2 separate regions of the Homo sapiens genome follow, and region 1 is linked to region 2. The links are contacts of gene promoters, found by promoter capture Hi-C in blood cells and fetal thymus (Javierre and others, 2016). All regions are on one chromosome and are shown on one strand. Each heading gives the region's core, a stretch centred on a gene start or on the middle of the fragment in contact. The rest is flanking DNA. Distances are from core to core; before and after follow the strand shown.

The links. The method cuts DNA at HindIII sites, captures the fragments that hold promoters and counts their contacts. A CHiCAGO score of 5 or more calls a contact.
Region 1: a fragment that was not itself captured here is called in contact with the fragment with the promoter of RAB3GAP2 in region 2 in 1 of 17 cell types (non-activated CD4 T cells); the score reaches 10.0 in non-activated CD4 T cells.

What each region holds. Positions count from the first base shown.
Region 1 is chr1:213,048,091-213,053,130 of GRCh38, reverse strand. RPS6KC1 (ribosomal protein S6 kinase C1) reads right to left here and starts at 1,890. Exons shown (of 15, transcript NM_012424.6): 1 at 1,622-1,890. The coding sequence starts at 1,726. RefSeq lists a silencer at 1,662-1,761. The HindIII fragment of the contact is 3,639 bases long and covers 1,903-5,040 here.
Region 2 is chr1:220,269,964-220,275,028 of GRCh38, reverse strand. RAB3GAP2 (RAB3 GTPase activating non-catalytic protein subunit 2) reads left to right here and starts at 2,576. Exons shown (of 35, transcript NM_012414.4): 1 at 2,576-2,806. The coding sequence starts at 2,692. RefSeq lists an enhancer at 3,981-4,482. The HindIII fragment of the contact is 3,718 bases long and covers 1,024-4,741 here.

The sequences.
Region 1 (5,040 bases), core at 2,473-4,972, 7.2 Mb after region 2:
TTCAAGAGTGGTATAATAAGGGCCCCTCACTCTCACAAAATTTCTTACACAACCTGAAACTAACATTCCACCCATGTAACAACCTTAAGTGCAAGCAGGGAGCAACAAACATCCCTCTATTCTCCGAACAGCAATCGGCAATAGCAGGTCAGGTCTTCTCATTATCTTTATACAGACATGTTCATCTATCCCTCCTTCTCACATTTATCTGAATTGTGCACCATTTCCATACATCACGTGCCACTCCCATGCCCCAAACTGATCTATTTAACCTTTAAGATTCTTCTCAGGCTGGGTGTGGTGGCTCATGCCTGTAATCCCAGCACTTTGGGAGGCCGAGGCAGGCGGATCAACTGAGGTCAGGACTTCGAAATGAGCCTGAGCAACATGCAGAAACCCCATCTCTACTAAAAATACAAAAAATTATCAGGGCATGGTAGCACATGCCTGTAATCCCAGCTACTCGGGAGGCTGAGGTAGGAGAATCGCTTGAACTCAGGAGGCAGAGGTTGCGGTGAGCAGAGATCATGCCATTGCACTCCAGCCTGGGCAACAAGAGCGAAACTCCGTCTCAAAAAAAAAAAAATTATTCTGAAGGCCTGCTTTACATCCTCCAAATGTATATTGAACTACTGTTACTTAATCTGTACCTCTCTTCTTTAAAAATTGATAAAGTTAATTATTAACATTTTATATAACTTGGAGTTAGGCAAAACTGGTTTCAGATCCCAGACAGATCTGCTACTGCCTTGCAATGTAAAGTTGGGCAAGTTACTAAACTTGCTTTAATCTATTTCTTCCTCATTAAAATGAGAATTAAATTGGGTGATGTGCATAAAATGCCTACTATACACATATATTCATGCACACATACGTCACATACATATATACTTATTTAATTTTGATTTATTCTTACTTTCCTAGAAGATGCAGACTCTCTTTAAAACTCAAGGCAAAAGCAATGAAACATAAAGTGGGTACTAAAAATTGGACCAGTTAGTTGATGTAAAGGAGCCTCCCAACTTTAAAATGTGCCCTCATGGTAGCTCACACAAGCCACCCTCAGCAGATTTTTTTCACGTCTCCTACTGAAAAACATGAAAAACTCAAAGGTTTGACAAAGCCCGGATCCACAGTTCCTAGGTTGGTGGCCTAACACTGACATCTGTCCCAAGAATCTGTCTTTCTCACAGCAAACCTGATAAAGGTCAAGAGAAAAAACAACTTATATTACATAAGCCAAACAATACATAAATTAACACTTTTTAATCTGCATTATCTTCCTGGAGCAAGCAAAACCACTTCTGCAAATTGCGAACTCAGAAGAGAAAGTCCAAACGGGATGGGAACTGAGTCATCAATTTAAAACCATCAACCACTGACTGCCCCACCCCCAGAAAGAGGACTCTACCACGACCTACTACAGTGAAGCCCTGGGCATATCACACTCAGCCACTACTCTAAAAATCCCAACCTCCGACACCCAAGTCCCGCCAGTAGGAGCAGCACCCAGTCCCACCCTCGGCTCTGAGCCAGAGTCAGGTACCCTCACATCAGGGTCCCCACCCCAGATCCTCAGGTCCCAATCCAAGCTCTACCCCAGCCCGACACCGGCACTCACCCGGGCGGTGACCTTATATACTGTGTAGCCCCTCGGGTGTCGCTGGGGCTCGGTGACAGTGTAGAAACGGGCCAGGTCGGCACTCCGCTCCCGGTAAGAGGTCATCCTCCCGCCGCCTCTGCCGCCGCCGCCACCCGCCCGGGATCATGAGGGAAACCCGGCGCCGCCGCGGTCCAGGTTCCCCAACGCAGCGGCGAAGCGGCGAGGGGGCGGTGGCTCCAAGGCGGCTCCACGGCGGCGCCTCAGCTGCACAGCTCTGCTTCCGGGTCAGCAGAGAAGCTTCCGGGCCAGGCTATCTCCCGCTTCTAGGGGGAGGGGAGACTCCTCCTTAGATTCTAGCCCCTTTGGGGCACCTGGGACTGGCCTGTAGTTGAAGACTAAGGGGTCGCGCTGCCACCCCCGTCACTGCGGAGACCTCAGGCCTCTCCACTAAAGACGACCTCTTGTACGCTAGCTCCGTCACCTTTTATGAGATTTTATGAGAGTTGGTATAGCCACGCCACACCGGGAGAGCGTGGTCCTCCCTGCCTCCGCCCCGCCGTGGTACAAACTTAAGTGGAGTGTTGAAGGGATGGAGAGATACCATAGCCTAGCACCTTCTTTCCTTACCTATTCACAGCCTATCATTTTAAATACCCACAGCAACATCTCATTCTCTGAGACATATCCCTTACTTCTTTCTAAGACGAATTTCCTTCCATTGAGCGCCTTTCTGTAACACATCTGCACAGCAAGCCCCCAACCCAAAAAAGCTCCCAAGCCAATATCAATCTTTTAAAAATCCCCACAGGTTCGAAAATCTGGAGTCCGCCTCTGGCTAGAAGAAAGAAATATGTCACTCGACCTCTCCGAGTCACTCACTACAGTTTCCAATTTCAGCTGAGGTTGTTATCAACGCTTGGCAGTTCCTTTATCTTTTTGTGATCAAGGTTCCTTTTCATTCCACAAAATATTCATGCCAAGTCTTTGCCATTATCCTAAAGACTCTGTTCCTCTTCCTTTTGCCTCCCTACTCTCCGCACCACCACTCTTCTTTACAGGGAAAAAAGAAGAGGAAGAAGCAGCTATGGCCCTTAGTACCAATTCCTTTGTCTTCTCACATTTCCATGCCAGTCTGAAACGTACACATATCACTTGCTCATTTTTACAGCTAATGACTCCACATGTGATCTGAATCCCATCCTCTTTGGCAAACCTTAAGACACTGTTTCAATGACATTCCAAATCTCCTTTCTGTATGTTTAATCTCTTTCTCACCACTGGCTCCTTCTTTTCAACCTACATATATCTAAGTCTATTAGTCATTCATTAAACCTGAATTCACCACCTACTATGTGCCAGACATGATGCCAATTTGGCATTGGAGTTACAAAGATAGTCCCTGTTCTCCGACCGGGCGCGGTGGCTCACGCCTGTAATCCCAACACTTTGGGAGGCCGAGGCGGGCGGATTACCTCAGGTCAGGAGTTCGAGACCAGCCTGGCCAACATGGTGAAACCCCGTCTCTACTAAAAATACAAAAAATTAGCCAGGCGTGGTGGCAGGCGCCTGCAATCCCAGCTACTTGGGAGGCTGAGGCAAAAGAGTCGTTTGAACCCGGGAGGTGGAGGTTTCGGTGAGCCAAGATCGCACCATTGCACTTCAGCCTGGGGGACAAGAGCAAGACTTCTCTCAAAAAAAAAAAAAAAAAAAAAAAGGTAGATAGTCCCTGTTCTCAAGTACCATCTAGTAGGAAAAATAAAGACACAAAATATACTGTGATAAGTACCATGGTGAATGTATATATGGAGTACTAAAGAGCACATCAATTCAGGATGGAAGATCGCCTAAGGCTTTCTGATAGAAGACTGAGTCTTGGAAGAGAGATGGGAGTTAGCCAGGAGAGAAGGGAGTAAAGGGCATTATTCATTTTGCCTTCTTTTCTTCCTTTCTTTCTCCTTCCACTCACCGTCAAAGTTGTTTAAGTTGATTTTAAAGTAATCTACATCAACATTGCATCATCACCCATTTATTCCCATGTCCAATTCAATCTGGTTTCACCTCTATATTGCTACTCTGAAACTGCTCTGAAAACAGTTTCCAGTGACCTCAATTTGCCCAATATTTCTGGATTTTGAAAGTCTCTGACCATTTCTACCTTTTTAAAACTTTTGTATATTCTTAGCATATGAGTCAGCATTATTTCTCTTTTCTCTTTTATACTCAGATGACTTGCTCTTTTTTCAGTCTCCTTTGCTGGTTTCTATTCCTTCCAAGAACTTTTAGTATTCTTGTTTCTCAAGATTTTGCCTTTGATCCTTTGTTCTTTATTCCCATTGACTTGCAAATGTCTATCTCCCAGCATATCTCTCTTCCAGGACTTGACTCACTTTACCTACATCTTTATTATATATCTAACACTGGAAACAGAACAAATCAAAATCTCAACATTTTTTCCCCTCATATACCTATTTCTATCTCCATGACTGGTTTTACTCTCCATTTAATTACATTAGTTAGCTATTTGATATCATCCTTAGCAACTTCCTCTCCATGTTCTCTGAGTTTCTTTGATTTACCAGATATTATTGATTAAAAATTTAAAAAGTGGAAAAACATGTGCCACGAAAACACTACTAGAAATACTTAAGACAAAGAAATATGATCAGGAATAAAGAAGGACAAAACTTAAAGAATTCAATTCATAAAGAAGACAGAGCAATTCTAAATGTGTATATACCTAATAACAAAACTAAAAATGTAAAAAGCAAAAACGATTAGAACTAAAAGAAGAAATAGACAAATCCACAATTATAGTTAAAATTTCAACACTCAGGCCTGGCATGGTGGCACATGCCTGTAATCCTAGCACTTTAGAAGGCTGAAGTGGGTAGATCACTTGAGGCCAGGAGTTCAAGACCAGCCTGGCCAACATGGCAAAACCTCATCTCTACTAAAAATACAAAAATTAGCCGGCGTGGTGGCACATTCCTGTAACCCCAGTCACTTGGGAGGCTGAAGCACAAGAATCACTTGAACCAGGGAGGTGGAGGTTGCAGTGAGCCAAGATCATGCAACTGCACTCTAGCGTGGGCAATAGAGCAAGAATCTGTCTCAAAAAAAACAAAAAAGATTTCAACGCTCCTCTCTCGGTAATTGACAAAACATGTAAACAAATAAATGAATAAGGATACAGAAAACCTGAAAAGCTCTATCAACCAACTCTACCTGATAGACATTTATAGAACACGCCACTCAATAGTAGCAGAAAATGTTTGTTTCAAGTGTACAGAAAACATTCAACAAGTCAGGCCATATCCTGGGCTATAAAATAAATGTTAACAGGCTGGGCGCAGTGGCTTATGCCTGTAATCTCAGCACTTTGGGAGGCCAAGGTGGGCAGATAGCCTGAGGTTGGGAGTTGGAGACCAGTCTGACCA
Region 2 (5,065 bases), core at 1,327-3,826:
AAACCTACATATCCCTGGGATGAACTTTAGAGCCCAGCCTCTTCATTTTATAAACCAAGAAACTAAGTCCCAAAAAAGTGACATGAATTCCCCAAAGTCATGATTCCAAGTCCATTGCTCTTTCTCTCACATCTGCGTTTAGTGCCCATCCTGCAACTCAACCCCTTCGCTTCAAGCTGCTGCTAAGGATTGGCAAGGGGCTGCTGCTTATCTTCCTCAGTAACACATCTCTCTCTTAACAACAGTCATCTGTGCTCTGACTCACACTAATGGATACTGGAGGAAGTTCACATTGGTACCTGGACTCATCCTGTTGTTATTTTGGTCACAGTGCTTTTCCTACCTCCTGAACCCAGACCTCGGAGAGACACTGTCAATGCTGGGATATGTAAGGCCTGCACATTTTTGCAATGTGCTTTCTTATGACTGTGGAATAAGTGATATTCACTGTCTGATGCAATCCTCCCACATGCCGCAGAAACCATGGTAGCAGAACTCCAGAGGCATCCCCCCCTGTTGCATTACAACTTCCTGGGGGAAGAGTTCAGTTCATGAATGTGTTGTAATTTCTGTGAAGGGTATCTAAAGTCCTTAAAAACATCCATGAATGATCCTTTTCAACAGTACTTGGAAGGAAGTCAGGGACTTCACCATTAAAACTGAGCCAACACAGTAATGAAATTCAATGACCACCACAGGAGACATATGAATGCCTCAGGGAAGAACAAAGGCCAGCAAAATCAGCCAACAGCAGTTACTTCCACAAAATGCATTTACCTGAATAGGAACTTGAATGGTTTTCAAGGAATGACAGTCTCCTTCCAGAAAGTGTCATGTGTTTGTTATTCGTCCAGTAACACTAAGAATCTAAATTTAAATTTTGGTTTAGTTTGGGATTGGTGCTGGATTTTAGGGAATAATCTTATCAGGGCTGGATTATTCTAGTTAGTGATGATCTGAGGAAACACTGCATTTCTTCAGATGGAAGAAGGGAGCACTGGCAGCTTGCTTTTTCTGAAAGCTTTGATTACAGAAGTATAGGTCCCTGATGCTTAAAGGGACCTTACAGCACATCTGATTCAACTGCCTTTTATAGGTGAAGAACTGATTCCTGTTAACCTGATAACATAGAAATTGCCTATCCTATTTTGTGAAAATCATCCTACTCTAGAAGTAGGAAATAATGGAGTAGGAACCTGGGCACTAAATTATAGTTGTTATATTATTAGGACTAAGTGTGTATGTCCACGGGCCTGACAGAAATGAATGCTCTGGACCCCATCCACTTGCCTTTCATTTGTTCCTGTGCCCTTTTTTCATACAAAGTGGATGGCCTCTTTAGGTTTCCTTTAGGAAATGTGTAAGTGCCTACAGGCCTTTGTGCTCACATTAAAATAATTTTTTTTGTTTTTATTTTTTGGAAAAATAACTTAAAGTCTGCTCAGAGACAGCTCAATTTCTTTATTTTAAAAATGGGATAAGACACACTATTTTTAGATGGCATTTGTGACTATCCAAATGAACAATGTAAAGTACTTTCAAAAATAGTGCTTTGTCAAAGAAACAAGTTATTCTATTTACTTTATGTATGCATTCCATTTATTTCTTCAGCAAATATTTATGAAGCACTTACTAGCATGATCACAATTTCAGTTAAATAGTTAAGTACAGTAGTCCCCCCTTTATCCATGGGTTCATTTTCCACATAATTATTCAATTTAATTATTAGTTATTGTTAATCTTTCACTGTGCCTAATTTATAAATTTAACTTTATCATATATATGTATAGGTAAAAACATAATACACATACATAGGTTTCAGTACTATCCATGGTTTGAGTCATCCACTGGGGATCTTAAAACATATCCCCTTGGATTAAAGGGAAATACTGTAATTAATTGCTTACTGCCTGTATCAGTCACTAGAATTCCAGCTTTCTGGGAAAAGGTACTTCTTCTCTTTTGTTCTCTAATGCTCAGCACCCTGCGTGGCTGGCATTTAAAAGACTAACAAATATTTGTTGAATGGATGGATGAATGCATGAATGAAAAACCAAATGAATAATGAAAACAAAAGTGTATAATACACTATAACACGTACTATATTGGGCTTGCGTAGTACTATGGGAATCTATAGTAGGAGCATTTAAAGCCAGCCTTGACGGGGCTAATCTCCGGAAGAGCAATTAATCTTTTCAAAATCCGACTCTTGCAGGATACGGTCCCCCACTGGCCTGCCACTAGTTTAAAACGAATTAGTTTCTGTGAAACATCAGGATCGTGCCAATAGTAGGGGACCAATAAGACTGAATAAGTCAAAGGGCTGCGCGGACAAGTCCAATTAGAACACCTCTGGCTAAAAGCCAGAATGAATGAAAGGGTTCATGCCTCGGCGTAGACACACAACTGGGACTGAAAAATCTGCCCCAAGCCTCCACGTCGACTTTGGCTCCACCTGCAGCGGCGGCGCCGTAGTCACGTGACCCGGGCCCCCGCGCCCTAGGCGCCTGGGCCAGCCTGCGCCTGCGCAGTACTCGGAGACAGCGGACCCGTGTCAGTGACAGCTTCCGGTTTGGTTTCTCCGCCTTCTGCTTGGCTAGAGCTATTGGGGCTCGGTGGCGGCCGCAGTGGGGTGGAGGGGGCAGGGCGTGGTGAGGTAAGGTGAGTGCCGTAGTGGGGTTCCCTGGAGCCATGGCCTGCTCCATTGTCCAGTTCTGCTACTTCCAGGACCTCCAGGCCGCCCGGGACTTCCTCTTTCCTCACCTGCGGGAGGAGATCCTCAGCGGCGCCTTGCGGAGGGACCCCAGTAAGTGCCTCTCTGGCCTCGCCCTTCCTTCCCTCGTCACCCGCGGCCTCTGCTCACGGGTTCGAGTCTCCTACTCGCTCTGCGCCTCCTGCCTCTGCCCTCTGGACCCCCAGTTCTCCCCGTGCCTCCCCTCCGCTCCGGGATGACACCCTGCCCACCTCGTCCTGAAGCCCCATTTGTGTTGTCTTCCTCTCGACCCAGCTTTTCTCCTTAGGCCCTCTGACCCCTGGCTAAAAACTGCGTCTTGTTTCCTCTCGCCTCTGCCTATCACCGCTTTCTCCCTCCCTCCCCCCACCCCCACACATTCCTAGCTTTCTCTCTGAGTATCTTCTCCGTCTCCCATCTTCAGCCTGGGGTCGTTCCCTGTTTCATGTTGCCTGCTCCGTGATCGCATCCTCCCCGTTCCTTGCCACATGTCAGCGCTCCACTCTGGTATTGCCCCAGCTCCCACTCTCTTCCATCCCGGAGACTGTGGCCTTCTGCTACCTCCCATTCCGAAAGTGTTGATCATCCCCCCACACTCTCCCTTCTTTCATCTGCATTTCCCCCATTCAGATTTTGAGAACAAATGGCTGACAAATGAGTGACTCTTGAGGTAAGACTCTCTCAAAGAAGGAAAATAACCTGTCAGGAAGTGAACGAGAATCTACATTAGGAACTAAAATTACAGTGACATAGCCAAGAAAGGTTAATTTGCTTTATTGAAGCCTTCCACCTATTTTTATCATCAAAGTGTTTAATAAGCCTTTCCCCAAGTAGTATAAAGTTCCAAGGCTGGTTTATTAGATACTATATAGGCTTTCAGAATTTCGTACATTTCATTTTGAAAGGGTGTGCCTTGTGTTTTATTTTATTTTATTTTATTTTATTTTATTTTTGCATTTCCAACCTGAAGCACATTTGGCTTTGTAGTACAGCGCTCTCACTTTGTGCTATACCGGAATGGTGATATAAAGCCCACTAAGCTCCTCTCCCTTTTTTAGAAAATTTAGAAGATATCAAATCGAACCCATCTGTGAATGATTGCATACTTTGTGCCAGTCATTGGTGCTACAAACCAAATAAGGTTGGTGGACCCTGCTGTAGGAACTTCTGGTTTACAGACAAATCATTAACTTCCATTCAGTGTGACTGAGATATACATGAGGCATTTTCTTGAAGTGGTGATACTTAAGCCTACCTTTGAAGTACTAGTTAGAGGAGTAAAGGAGCAGTAATAGCATGTGCAGAGGAAGGGAGGCCTGAAATGGCATGGTATTTAGAGAACTAAGAAAAGCTGAATGGCTGGAGAGGAGGATGGGAGAGGAAGAGTTGGGGCAATGAGGCAGTAGTAGTAATAAGGAGCTAGACCATGAGAGGCCTTGTGAAAATTGTGGCGTTTCTCTGAAAGTTTAAGTAGAGAAATGACATTGTCAGATTTGTACTTAATGTAATCAACAACATTTGTTGAAGACCTGTAATGTGCTCTGGTAGCAAAGTGGAGGAGAGATTGGAAGAAGGGAAATGGATTGGGAAGCTCTTCCAGTAATCCAAGCAAGAAATTATGTGAGCTTGAATTAAGAACCTTAGTAGGATGAAGATGAAGGACTAGATTAGAAAGACGTTAAGGAGTTAGAATCTGCAGGACCTTGTGAAGGTCTGGTGATGGGCATTGTAACTAGTAAGTGAGGGGGAGTTTAGGAAGTCTTTGGCTTGTGGTTTGGGCAACTATATGTAATAAGAGAATGAAGGATACAGATTTTCAACCTTTTGCATTTTAAATGTTTATGGTATGTCCAAGTAAGGACATCTGGTTGAACACCAGATATAGATAGTCTAAACAGTAGGGAGTACTGGGCCAGAGATGTTAATTGGGGAGCTAACAGCAAAAAGTGTCAGTTCAGTCTCAAGGATTATGTATGTTGTGAAATGCACTGAGTACTAAAGCTGTAAGCTTAGAGGAGCACTGGTGTTTAAAAGTCAAGTAGAGGTTACTGGGAAGAAGACTGAGAAGGAGTAAAAGAAAGAGGAAAATCATGTGAGAGTAAGGCCCTCGGAGCTGAGGAAGGCGAGAACTTGATGAGGGTGAGGAATGGTCAGCAGTTTTGCAAATGCAGCAGGGGTCAGGTAAGAAAAGGATAGAAAAATGCTTATTGGTTTTGAGAAGGTGGAGGTAACTTGGACCTTAGGACAGTTTCAGTAGGATAGTGGAGGCAGAAAGCATAGTTATAGGATAAGGGGTTAAAAAGTGAAATATACTATTTCAAGGAGCTTGGCTGT